Linked DNA regions of Homo sapiens: region 1 is linked to region 2. Evidence: promoter capture Hi-C in human tissues and cell types (Jung and others, 2019). All regions are on one chromosome and are shown on one strand. The core of a region is centred on a gene start or on the middle of the fragment in contact, and the rest is flanking DNA. Distances in the headings are between cores, read along the strand shown. Region 1 holds the start of SNCG (synuclein gamma). Region 2 holds the start of OPN4 (opsin 4).

Region 1 (6,496 bases), core at 1,893-4,392, 300 kb before region 2:
CCTGCTGAGTCCTGCTGCCCTAAGGCTGATGATGAGGCCAGGGGTATGAGTGGTCAGATAGTCCCTGCTGAGGCCTTTCACAGTTCACTGGGAGATGAGTCGTGACTGGTTTTGGGGTGTCACCAGGAAATGAGTCTCCCTCGAGGTGGCTCCAAGGGCTCACTAGCCCTGCTCCGGGATTCACAAGGAATGCCCGGGCACCCTCACCCCAGGGCCTCTTTTGCTGGGGGTGAGGAGGGAGGAGCCCCCTGGGGCTCTATGTGTTCTGCCTGGGACACATGATGATGATGATGATGATGGTCACCTTCCTCTGCTGGGTGCTCACATAGACCAGGAGAATTGCTTCATGGAGGTCATGGCCCTGCCTCATCACACAGCCCAGGGAGGCCGACACTCTCACCCCCATCTTGCAGATGAGAACACGGAGGCCCAGAGAGGTTCCTTTGCTTCTCAAGGTCATACGACGAGAAAGGGGAACTAGGAGAGGGAGCGGCTGCCAGCTCCAAGGACATGGAGACCCTGTGCTGGCCCTGGAAGCAGACACCTGGGCATCGCCCCAGAGCCAAGAGGAGTAGGGCAGCCCCCACCCTTCCACCCACCCACTCCTAACGCAGGGATTCTCAGTGCTCAGAGCCTCAGACTCCACCACCTAGGAGGCCTGGAGCAGGTAGGAGAGCTGGACACTGCTCCCCCGCCCCACCCCCAGGTAGGAATCCTAGCCCAGGCCACCACTTACACTGCCACAGGGTCTCTCAGAGTACAGGCTGCTCAGGGGAATTCCAAGCTCACATGAACTAGCCATGGGACCTTGGGCACATTAATCTCTCTGGGCCTTAGTTTCCACACCGTCTCATGGATTTTGTGTCTATTAAATGAACTAATAAGCGTACAATGCGTAAAGCAGAGCTTGCTGTGTCACAGGTGCTGGGACAGCTCACCCAGCCAACACCCGTCCCTGGGGTGCGCCCCACTGCTCCTGTGCTGTCTGCTATTGGGCCGCACACGCATGTGTACATTCACACGCATGTACACCCACACATTCTCACAAATGCACCCACATGCTCACTCAACACACGTGCACACACACACAAAGGCAGCTGCAGAGGGTAGGGTCAGAAGCAGCACTGCTTTCTTACCACTAGGGGACGCTACTTCCCTGAGGCTCCCAGCAGGAGGCAGCTGCCCCGCCCAGCCCAGGGAGGGAGGCTAGGCCCTGGGGGCGGGGCTGGTGCTACTCAGCCCCCGGCCTGGTGACCACTGCCCGGGAGGCTGCCTGTCACCGTGTGGGATCCTGTTTTCACTTATAAAATGGGGTGTCTCCTAAGTGCTGAGAGCCGTCCGGAAGATGTGGTTTTGAGCCTCACTTTCCTTGTCTATGAGATGGGCTCCCAAGTCCCCCGAAGGGGTGGTTGTGGTGATTCCAGACCCGAATGCAGGTCGAACAGCAAGCATGGACCCCACCCCATGCCGGCGCTCAGTGGGTACTGAAACTGAAGCCAGCCGCAGCCCCCCGTGTTGTTTCCTGGGGTGTGGAGTGGAGTGATGCCGCCTCCGCCCAGCAGCCTTTCTGGGCCCAGGAGAGGACTGGGCAGGTCTGAGGGCCGGGGCTCACCTTGCGCACCACCCCGGAGGTGACCGCGATGTTCTCCGCCTCCTCCACGGTCTTGGTGGCCACAGTGTTGACGCTGCTCACCACAGCCTCGCTCACGGCGTTGGCCTGCTCCTTGGTCTTCTCGGCCACTATGGGAGGACACTGGCTGGCCTCCACCCCAGCCCCAGCCCCAAGGCAGGCCTGCTGGAGTCAGGCTCGCAGCCCCTTCCCAGGAGCTCAGAGCCCTGGCCCTGCTGGGACCCTCCCCTGCTCCCTCTGACTCCAGGGCACCTCTGATGCTGGTGGGGGTAAGGAGACGCCCACCCTAGTTTAGCCTCATGGTCTGCAGGGGTCTGTAGGGCTTGGGACCCCAGTTGGGGGTAAGGCAGGACTCTAGGTTTGAGCCCCAGCACTAGGATGCAGGAGCCCCAGGGGTCCTATCCCCCATGTGTCCCCTGGCCCTGGGGCTTCTCACCTGAGGTCACGCTCTGTACAACATTCTCCTTGGTCTTGGCTCCTGGGGAGGAAATGGAGCTGTCAGCCCAGACCTCCCTCGAGGTGTTGGGGGCGGTCAGGACAAACACAACAGAACAGCTGGACAAACTGTGGGGTCGGTGGGGGGGTAAGGATGGTGTCTGGGGGCCGGCGGCCCCTTCAGAGGGCCTCTTCCTGCTGTGTCTGGAAGAAGTGGATGGATGGGAAGGGGACAGGACAGAATGTGGGGGACAAGAGAGAGCAGGCCTGAGGTAGGGACACTGGCTAGACCCAGGGTCCAGCCCCTGCCCGGGTGTGGCCGGGCCTCAGAAGCAGCAACAGGACAGGATGGGCCAGAGCTGAGTCATTGGCTTGACCTCCCCTTCCTCCTCTGGAGAGTGCCAGGAGAGGATGCGGGGGAGGGAACACTGAGCCTAGGTTTCATCCCCCAGCCTGCCCCTTCTCTCTGGGGAGGGAGGGGATCCGTGACCTGGCTGTAGCCGCTCCCGTGTGGAGAGGGTGGGGGCCACCTGAGCACAGGCTGCTCATGGCTTCAGGGGCTCCAGGCTCAGGGGAGGCTGGTATGCTTGGGAATGTGTGTGTGCGTGCACAGACAGGTAGCCAGCCCTGTCTGCGGTCTCTGACACCCAGAGGCCCCGAGGAGGCCAAAGACAAACACACATAGGTGTGCACAGGGCATTGTGGGTGCTCCAGGGTCTGGAGACCCCACCTTGATAGCCAGGGCCTCGCCCCCTCCCAAAATGCCTCCCTGGGGCTGGGGAGTAAGGTCTGGCGAAGGTAACTGGGCACTCACCCTTTGGCCACCACACTGTCCCACCCTGCCATGCCCCACTTACCCACATACATGACCCCCTCCTTGGTCTTCTCAGCTGCTTCCGTCACCCCCTGCTTGGTCTTTTCCACCGCACCCACCACGCCCTCCTTGGCGATGGAGAAGCCCTTCTTGAAGACATCCATGGTGGGTGTGCAGGGTTGTGCTGCTGCAGGCAGGACGGAGCTGGATCTCCCTGCGAGCTGCGGGCTTGAGCTGGCTCGAGTGCTGCCGCAGCGGCTGTCCCCGATGCCTCCTATTGACGCCGATGAAATATTGATGCGGAGGCCAGCTGGAGCCCAGCCAGCCCTGCGTGCAGTGGGGGCGGGGAGGGAGGGAGGGAGGGAAGGAGGTTCAGCCTCACCTTCCTCCAGGATAGGAAGGCAGAGACCAGGCTCCCTGGGCTCCTGCTGGCTCAGCCCAGCTCTCCTGCCCCGTGCCCTCCATGGGCTGGAGGGGGCTGGCCACCTCCCAACCTGTCCCTCATTCATTTACTGCCCTGCCCACCCATGGGGGCAGCCCTGGCTGGGTGCTCTTGGCCCCAGGGGTGCTGTGTCTATGCTGCACCTGGACAGACAGGCACAGAGAGGGGAGGCGCCTTGGCCATTGTCCCCAGCTTCCTAGGTAGGGGTCAGGGCCACATAGGCCTGTTAGGTGAGAGCAGCCAACCTCCCGCGGCCTGGGCTGTGCAGCTACCCACCAGCATCCTGGATGCCGCTGGACCCTGGGCTGCCATGAAACCGGTTGGAGGATCTGAGGTGGGTGGGGGTGGGGAAATGAAGGACTTCCTCATGCCTTGGCCTCTGGCTGCATGCTGTGTGACCCCAGAATAGTCCCTTCCCTTCTTTGAGCCGCCCAGTGCTGAAGGTGCTGAGGAGGCATGAATTGCCCCCCATTTCCTGGCCAGCAGTGTGGATGGGCAGCAGGTCCCCTGAGATGGACCTGACCACTTCCTGTGGCCCCACCTCGAAGTCCACGCTCTTTTCATGGCTCCCAGGGAGCAGGTTCCCATAAGGATGCATTTGGTGGGGCCACCCCATGTCTACCACATTCCCAGAGTCCCTGAGCCAAGTCCTCAGGGACAGGAACTGGCTTGTGTGGTTGGCGGCCCCTGTGGGGCCAGCCAGGGTAGTTGGGGGGCAGGACAAGACCCACCGGGTAGGCCGGCCCAGGCCACTTCCTCTCTTTGTTGTCCTCGTATTTTCTTTTCCTCCTGAGATTTAACTTGAAGACAACGTCACTAGCAGTTTCTGGAGCTACTTGCCAAGGCTGAGTGTGAGCTGAGCCTGCCCCACCACCAAGATGATCCTGAGCTTGCTGTTCAGCCTTGGGGGCCCCCTGGGCTGGGGGCTGCTGGGGGCATGGGCCCAGGCTTCCAGTACTAGCCTCTCTGATCTGCAGAGCTCCAGGACACCTGGGGTCTGGAAGGCAGAGGCTGAGGACACCGGCAAGGACCCCGTAGGACGGTAAGAGGGCCTGGACCTTGGCAGAGGTCATGGAGTAGGATCTGAGTCCCAGCTCAGCTAGAGCAGAGCCTCTCTAGACCTCACTGGGGTCCCATCTGTGAAATGGGCTAATAGTATCTATCTCTGGGCCATCTGTGAGGCTGAAAAAGTAGTCTGGACTGGGTGTTTCAGGATCCACCTAAGAATTGCAGGGAGTTCCCTGTCGGAGCCATGGCAGGGAATGGGGCTTGGGGGGCTGGCAGGGAGGCACAGCTCCTACCATCAATCACCCAGCATGGGGCACTGGGGGACTGTGGCTGAAGCCATTGCCAGCTGGCCTGGCTATGCCTCCTGTTCTTCCAAAGAAATCAATTCTGAAAGCTGAGACCCAGCAAGGCTGCCCTGAGATTTTGATCTGAGTTCCCTGGGGACCTGACTCTGACTGCCCAGCAGTGAGCAGAGACGGCCCCCTGCTCTCCAGAGCACAGTCCAGGGCGCTCTGCCTCAGCGACCCAGCAAGTGGGCAGGATGGTCTTGCAACTGGACCCAGAACATAGCTTTCCAACATTCTATGTGTACAGAGCCAGGGCCCATCCTGCTGATGAGGTGTTGGGCCTGTAAGTCCCCCCTCATCTCCAACTGCCCCTCAGTCAGAGCAGCAGGTGCTGTTTACGGGGCCCCCAGTCTCAGGGCCAGGCACCTTGCCACGTGTATCTCAGTTCATCCCTCCAACAGCCCCACTTACAGAGGAGGAGCCTGAGGCTCAGAGAGGCTGAGGGGCTTGCCCAAGGCCACACAGCTAAGGAGCAGGATCTGAGTTTGACTTCAGAGCTCATAGTGAACTCTCTGCAGCACTTGGAGCCAGCCCCAGCCCCCAGATGCTCCTACCTCCACCCTCCTGCCCCCACACACCAGACCTGTTTGGCTAAGGGCATCTACATGGATTTAGGGAGTGAGGGGGGGGCCAACTTACACTTCTGTGCGGTGTATGAGAGCCACCATCGCAGAGCGGACCTGCCTGGGATAGGTCTCATTTGGCTTCTGAGTTGCAGGTTTGTTGGGTGCTTTCCTGAAAACAGATTTGACCAGGGAGGGGCAAGAGGCCCCTTAGTGAGGGTCTGGTGGCAGTGGCGTGGGGAACAGTGGCTGAGCAGTTGGCCATGGAGAAACCTCATTCCCGCCTGCCCCCAACTCTGCTCAGGGCTGGGAGGTGCAGGTGATTCTCGGTGGTGGGGCGGCAAGGGGAGCAGGGGGCGGGGGAGGGGCGGGCTGGATCCAGCCACTCCGCTCTGATTTCAGGACCAAGGAAGCTCCACGCCTTAGTCTCAGGCCACCTTCCGCCTTTTGATGAAAGGGAGGATGAGAGGACCCGGTGGACGGGAGGGAGGAGGGAGCTGCTCCTCTTCCTCCCCACCCCCTTGGTTGTGGGAGAGACATTGCTCCCTTAGCCCCAAGGAGTGAGGGTTTGGGAACTGCTGATGGGCAGCCCTGCAGGGGCCCCGCAGTCCTTCTCTGGGGTTCTGAGTGGGAGGGTGCATGTACCTGGCCCAGGAATGCCCAGGTGTCCCAAGCCTGGAAGCCCCCTGCCTGCAGGGCTCTCCTTCCCACATCCAGAAGCTGCAGTCTCCACAGGGCAAGTCCATGCTCTCTCACCAAACCCGGATGGGCTGGTGAGAAAGGAAGGAAACGCGCGGCTTCCTGGGCTGATTACTTCCCTTGCTCCTGTGACCAGGGAGGTGGAAGCGTGCTCCAGACCCTGTCCCTGCAGCATGGGAAGGGGAGGCAGACTGGGTTCTGCTAGCAGGGGTGGTGACACCAACACCATCACAAGGAGGCTCGGCTGCCAGGGCCAGGCATTCTGCCCTGCCTTTGCCACTTACATCTGTTTCCAGAGCCCCAGGGCTAGGCTGGGCCCAGGATGCAGGCCCCAATAAGACCCTTTGCAAGGAGAAGCTTGAATAGAACCACTACGTCCTCAGACTTCCCTGAGGTGGAGAAGCGAAGGGGTTAACTGCTTCTTAGGTTGCCAGGGACCCCGAGGGGCCCAGCCCAGGGAGCCAGCAGCCTGAGCATTAGGACTCCGGGAGGAAGAGGCTGTTTCTGTGCCCTGGCTTGGGGATGTCTAGAATGTGGGTGCCTCAGACCCAGGATTTG
Region 2 (6,382 bases), core at 2,588-5,087:
CACTCCACCCCCTCCACCTGCCACATCTGGCCAAGGCTGGCAGAGGCCTTAGGACCAACACTGCATCTTCCCTTCTTGCTTACTCACAGGACTGAGGGCAGCTACCCACTCTCTGCCCAGAAGCAGCAAATCACCTCCTTTGGGCCACCCTCCATTGAGGGCATCCCCAGGTCAAAACCCTCCTCCTCCCTCCAGCAAAAGGGAGCCCCAGCATCTACCTGTCTCCCCAAAGAGCCACTGCTTATAGAGGCTACTGGTGAAGAAGACAGGGGCCTGGGTGAAGGACATGAGGAAGTCGCTGACCGCGAGGTTGATAATGAACATGTTGGCAGGTGTCCGGAGGCTTCTGCTCCTGGGAGGATCAGAAGCTGTTAGGAGGCGCTTCCTGACACCTCCAGAGCTATGGAGAGCTTCCCGCACCCCTCAGGTATGCATGTGCACACACGTGCCACACACTTACACATGCACACACACATGGGCAAGCAAACAGGCACGAGCTGCCGGGCCACAGAGCTATCCCACTGTCGGGCAGGGACCAGCCAAGCAGCTGTTGAACCCAGCAGTGTCTGCTGAGTGAGGACCCCAAGACGGCTCCCTCAGAGAGAAGCAGGGGGCAGTTTCTCTCCAAAACCTGAGGCGTGGCCCAGCGCAGGCCGGTTCTTGGGTCATGTCCGTTTCCTCTTCTTGCCCTCTAAATTCCTCTGCACGACTCACACCATTTCCTTGACCAATTCACTGGTTTCCTTGAGTCCCTCTAGGCCAAGGTCTCCCTAGAGGTTTCTCCCTAGGTTCCTCCTCCTGCGTGCCCTGACTGTGCTTTCCCATGGCTTCTCACGCTTCCCTCCTCCGCGGGTCCCCCTCCCACTCTCCCTCCAGTGTCACGTCCTGCCTGGACCCTGCCCTGCACACTGTCTCTGTAATCCTCATGCTTGGGGATGGCCAAGGGCAGAGGAGCTGATGGCTGTGCACCACGGCCGGGCCAGGCACTTTCACCAGCCTCGGCTCCTGTCATCATCCATCTTTGCATCTACCCTGAGGGAGGCGTCATTGTCCCCATTTTCCAGACAAGATGCTCCCACTCATGAAGTGACTTGCTCCGGTGCACAGCACTCAGTAAGTGGCTCATCTGTGGGGCAACGCACATCCGTGAACTTACTGCATCATCACAGTGACTCCACGAAGCACAGCTCTGTTTTGCGGAAAGAAAAGTGAGCTCAAGGAGGAGAAATGACGTGCCCAGTCCTTCAGCTGGCAGGTGGGAGAGCCAGGGGGCTGTGTGGCCCTGCAGCCTGGGTTCCCTTCTCCACCTGCCTGTCTCAGCCACTGAGCCAGGCAGGGGGGCAGATGGAGAGGGACACTGGGGGTGGGTGTCAGGGGTGTTTGAGGGACTTGAGGATGCTGGTCCCCAGGGCTGCTCTTTTTTTTTTTTTTTTTTTTTTGAGATGGAGTCTTGTTCTGTTGCCCAGGCTAGAGTGCAGTGGCATGATCTCGGTTCACTGCAAACTCCGCCTCCCAGGTTTAGGCGATTTTCCTGCCTCAGCCTCCCAAGCAGCTTGGATTATAGGCACACACCACCACACCTGGCTAATTTTTGTATTTTTAGTAGAGACGGGGGTTTCACCACATTGGCCAGGCTGGTCTCGAACCCTGATCTCAGGTGATCTGCTCGCCTTGGCCTCCCAAAGTGCTGGGATTACAGGCGGGAGCCACCACGCCTGGCCTAGAGCTGCTCTTCAACGCAGGGGGAGGATGCTCTCTGGGGCAGGTGACGGAGAGGTGCGCTGAGAGCAGGGCAGAATGGTCAGAGACCCACATACTCTGGGCACACACACCCTCCACAGAGGATGCACCTGGGTCTCAATTAGTGCCAGTCAGTCAAGTCTCCCTGGACCATTTTTGGCCCTTTCCGTGACCTTCAGGAAGGTCTGGGCCTGAGATCATCGAAGGCATGGCCCTGCCCTCCTTGCCTAGCCTCAACAGTGCCCTGGCCAGAGCTAGAGTCAACATTCCTGCCTGCATTTTCTTCCCTGTCTGCATGGCTGCCACCCTCAGTGCCCTGGGCCCAGCACCACCAACCAGGCACCTGCAGAAGGTATAGATGACCGTCAGGTTGCCCAGCATCCCCGTGAGTCCCACCAGCAAGATCACTGTGCCCAGGGTATAGTGGGCATGGTCTGGAACATCAACCGTGGGGAGGGGGACCCAGGCAGCAGCCCAAGTCCCAGGTGCCTGCGGAGAGACAGAGAAACGAGGGAATCATGTTATCGCTTGTCACCTTCAAATAGTCCTGAGAAGGAAGAGTTAGGATTCTCAACAGGGCAGGTGGGAAAACTGAGGCTCAGAGTGGCAAAGCCAGTTGCACACACAGCTCACAAGTGGCCAAAAGCAGAAGGGAAGTGCAGGTCCTTTCTAAAGTCCAGCCCAAGCTCCTAGAACATGGCACAGGGGCCTTCTAGGAGTGGGCTCAGATCACCTGCTGGAGGCTGGTAGGACAGACAGACATGTGACTGGCAAGCAGGGACATGGCCCTGGTCACCCTATCTTTCCTTAGGGAGAAGACAGAGCCAACTCCTGGGTGCATCCCTGCCTGCAGTATGGACTCCAGCCCAAGGGCCCAAGACAGTTTTTGAGGCCTCTAGACGCTGGGGTGGTGAGTCGGGTGGAGCCCCTCTCAAGAGTCCCGTCCCCTACTGAGCCTTAGAGGAGAAGCTGCATTGCCCAATAGCATAGCTGGGTACAGCTAACCTTGATGCCTGGCATGAAAATGAAGGGAATTCCCTTTAGAAAGAAAGCTTAGGCCTCCCAGGGTCACTGAAGGGAGGTCATGACCATATCAGGTCAGGACAAAGGGATTTAAAGACTCCTCCCACCCTAACCCCTTTCTGGGGAAGAGAGGGTGGCTTGGTCTCTGTCCTGCCGCAGTGGCCCCTATAGCTACCGGAGCCTTCCCATCCTGTCCAGCACCTGGGCCAGCATCCCCAGGTCCTGAGGGTGCCCTCGGCCTTCCCCAGGTAGCAGTGGTGTTGATGGAATATGGCCCTGGGCCTGGGCTAGGATGATGGAGGTGGCAGAAGGCACCCAAGGCTTCACTGTGGGCTTGGCAGATCCAGAGGCCCAGGGTGTGCCCTCCTCCCTGGAGGGCTCCATGGGGCATCCGAGCAACCTCTGAAAGGAATGAGTGCAGCCAAGGACAGGTCTGGCCATTCCAGCCCCTTGTCCTCAGGGCTGGCATTTCTGTTCCTTGAATGCTCTCCATGAGGAAGGACATTGCCTGCACCCTCCTCTATCAGCCTGTTTATCAGGGGCGGGCTCAGAGAGGTCCAGTAATGGCTCAAGGCCCCACAGCAGAGTTCAGACCTTTTCTATCTCCCTGTCAAAGCCCCTGTGTGTGGCCAGGAGGGGACCAGGAAGGGGTCAGGGAAGGCTCTGTGCATGCACATGCTCGCCCAGGCTTACTGTGGGACTGATGGATGGAAGCCGGCCCAGGCTGGAGATGCTGCTCTGGGAGCTGTCCCACCAGCTGGGTGGTGCTGGGGTGGCCATGCAGCTGGGCTCTTGGGTTGGGCTGGGCGGGACTCTTGGCCCCGAAGGAGGGTTCATCCTGAGTTGGGATGGTCCTTGCTCGAGCCCACAGAGAAGTCAAGGGCACAGGGAGCTCAGGACTTCAGCTGTGCTCAGCCTCCCAACTTTCCTCCATCCTCAGCACCCCTGCTTAGCCTACCCGCTGCTTTCTCCTGTGTCCGGCGCAGATCCAGCCTGGAGCTGCTCTTGGGGCTGGCGGTTGCTCTGTGTCTGGTGAAGCGCAAATGAGTGAGTGTCGCAGTTATGGTGACTCACAGCCACAGAGTTCATCCCCATCTTTATATAGCGATGTGGGAGCTGCACATGCTCAGTCGCTCCATGCCGCCAGCTCACTCAGACCAAGGTCTCTGGGTGTCTATCTACGAAGGTCTGATGATGGTGGCGTGAATGTGTATGTGTGAGTGTGTGTGTGTGTGTGTGTGTGTTTCAAGGGAGACTTCTGGAATGATGGTGGCATGAATGTGTGTGTGAGTGTGTGTGTTTCAAGGGAGATTTCTGGATGATGGTGGTGTGAATGTGAGTGTGTGTGAGTGTGTGTGTGTGAGTGTGTGAAAGTGTGTGTTTCAAAGGAGACTTCTGGGATGATGGCGTAAATGTGTATGTGAGTGTGTATGTGTTTCAAGGGAGATTTCTGGGATGGTGTCATGAATGTGTGCGTGTGTGTGTGTGTGTGTGTGAGGGTTCGTGAGTGTGTGTGTTTCAAGGAAGATTTCTGGGATGGTGTTGGGAATGTGTGTGAGTGTGTGTGTGTGTGAGTGTGTATGTGTTTCAAGGGAGATTTCTGGGATGATGGTGGTGTGAATGTGTATGTGTGTGAGTGTGTGTGTTTCAAGGGAGATTTCTGAGCTGACAGTGGTGTCAATGTGTGAGTGTGTGTGCATGTGAGTGTGTGTGAGTGTGAGTGAGTGAGAGCATGTGTGTGTGTGAGAGTGTGTGTGAGAGTGTGTGTTTCAAGGGAGATTCCTGGGCTCGGGCTCTTGGACATTGGGCAGAAGGCTGTGTCCTCTCCTTTGACCAGTCTCTGTTGTGTTTCTTCCCTGAGCTCATCAAGAGCAGCCTCAGCCATCCCAAGAGCCCCCAGAGCTGTTTGTGGGCAGCTGAGCCTGTGCAGCCCAGCCTCACCCTTGTCACAGTGGGCCCTACCACCATGTTTGGCCCCCATGAGCCATGGCATTTTCACAGTCACCCTGCATAGAACCAAGGCTGGTCACCCTTTCACAGATGGAGACACAAGGAGGATGTAGCAGTAGGGTGAGATCAGATCACGAGGCGGCTTTTGCTTGTTTTTTGATAAGAAAGTTTTATTTTTTTATTTTTATTTTTTTTGAGACAGTCTTGCTCTGTCACCCAGCCTGGAGTGCAATGGTGCAATCTCAGCTCACTGCAACTTCCGCCTCCCAGGTCCAAGCAATTCTCCTGCCTCAGCCTCCCGAGTAGCTGGGATTACAGGCACTCGCCACCACACCTGGCTAATTTTTGTATATTTAGCAGAGGCAGGAGTTCACCATGTTGGCCAGGCTAGTCTCGAACTCCTGACCTCAGGTGATCCACCCACCTCGGCTTCCCAAAGTGCCAGGATTACAGGCGTGAGCCACTGGGCCCGGCAGAAATTTTTAAAGTATAAAGATTTTTTAAAACCTTATTGGGAGAGTCCCAGGAACTCACCCAGGCCTGCAGGCCTGATCCAAGTTGACTGGATGTCAGAAGTGGAGGGGACCCCGGGCCTGCCCCTTGCCCTGTCTTAGAGGAGGCAGCAGGAGCTGGAGAGAAGGGAAGCTGAACACACGGCTTCCAGGGAGGGCTGCTCGGGCTAGGCCTGCCACAGAGGCTGCGTTTAGGGGAGCCCGACCGGGCAGCGGTCATCCTAAGTGGGGGCCATGTCCTGGCACAGTGCTGGGAGTGTTGGAGCCCTGGAGTGGACAGAGATATCACTCCTCTTCCAGAAGTTCCCCCAGTCTTTACAAACAGTTCTCCTGGAGCCCCAGGTTTGAGCAGGAGAAGTGGGAGCAGCCTCACTGGGAGCGGGAGCTGTACTTCCTGCAGCTGCCAGCCCATGGCTCAGACTGCCTTCCTCCTGAGGCTCTTCCACTTCAGGGCTTTGGCTCACAGAGGCCACCCTGGGGGCAGGGTGAGGCTGAGGGGCCGGCTTTTCTTTCTGTCCCTAGGCTCAATGCCAGCTGCTTGCGTTTTAATGTAGGGGTTTAACAATTCCTCACAGCTGGGAGCAATTCTGAGTCAACACAACGTCCCATTCAATGTGGACCCCACTCTCCAACCTGCTAATTAAGAGAGGGTGCAGGTGATGGAGCAGGCACAGGAGTCCAGGGGAGAAGTGCTTGTCAGGTGGACACATGAGGCGGGAATCCACATACCCAGGGTGCCACAGGCCTCAAAGGAGCACCTCAGGGAAAGATCAGAGGACTCGGAACCCCCAGCCTGGGGCCTTTGGAAGCCCACGTCTCACCTGACAATGTCCTTTCTCCATGGGCCGTGCACTGCAGCCGTTGCGGGTGACACTGAGATCTCCTCAGGGCCCAACCCCCTCACTCCTGTGCTTCTGTCCCACTGGGGAGGCTCCCCATGGCGCTCTTGCTCCAAACCTTTGCATCCCACACCCACCTGGCAGCTCGTCTGCCCGGAGCCTGCCATCCAATGGAGCCAGGAGGGCCGCGTGGGAAGCCTCAGCCTCCAGATGTCTCCTATGACTACTGCTGCCCAAGCTGTCCTGGCTGGAAGCTGTGGTCTGATGGGTGGGAACCCTGACCTTCCATCACTCCCCTCCGACCAGGTGGCTCCTGTC

What was found. Contacts are between HindIII fragments. The study calls those that stand out against the background at their distance.
Region 1: the fragment with the promoter of SNCG here is called in contact with the fragment with the promoter of OPN4 in region 2 in 1 of the 25 tissues and cell types used here (adrenal gland).

The regions. Positions count from the first base shown.
Region 1 is chr10:86,955,245-86,961,740 of GRCh38, reverse strand. It overlaps SNCG (synuclein gamma), which reads right to left and starts at 3,142. Exons shown (of 5, transcript NM_003087.3): 1 at 2,923-3,142; 2 at 2,067-2,108; 3 at 1,613-1,740. The coding sequence starts at 3,043. It overlaps MMRN2 (multimerin 2), which reads left to right and starts at 4,126. Exons shown (of 7, transcript NM_024756.3): 1 at 4,126-4,363. The coding sequence starts at 4,200. RefSeq lists enhancers at 452-1,052, 2,253-2,852, 5,855-6,454. The HindIII fragment of the contact is 6,431 bases long and covers 204-6,496 here.
Region 2 is chr10:86,652,002-86,658,383 of GRCh38, reverse strand. OPN4 (opsin 4) reads right to left here and starts at 3,837. Exons shown (of 10, transcript NM_033282.4): 1 at 3,457-3,837; 2 at 2,084-2,229; 3 at 219-352. The coding sequence starts at 3,600. LOC105378409 (a long non-coding RNA gene) reads left to right here. Exons shown (of 3, transcript XR_001747526.2): 3 at 90-230. RefSeq lists an enhancer at 6,020-6,382. The HindIII fragment of the contact is 7,074 bases long and covers 443-6,382 here.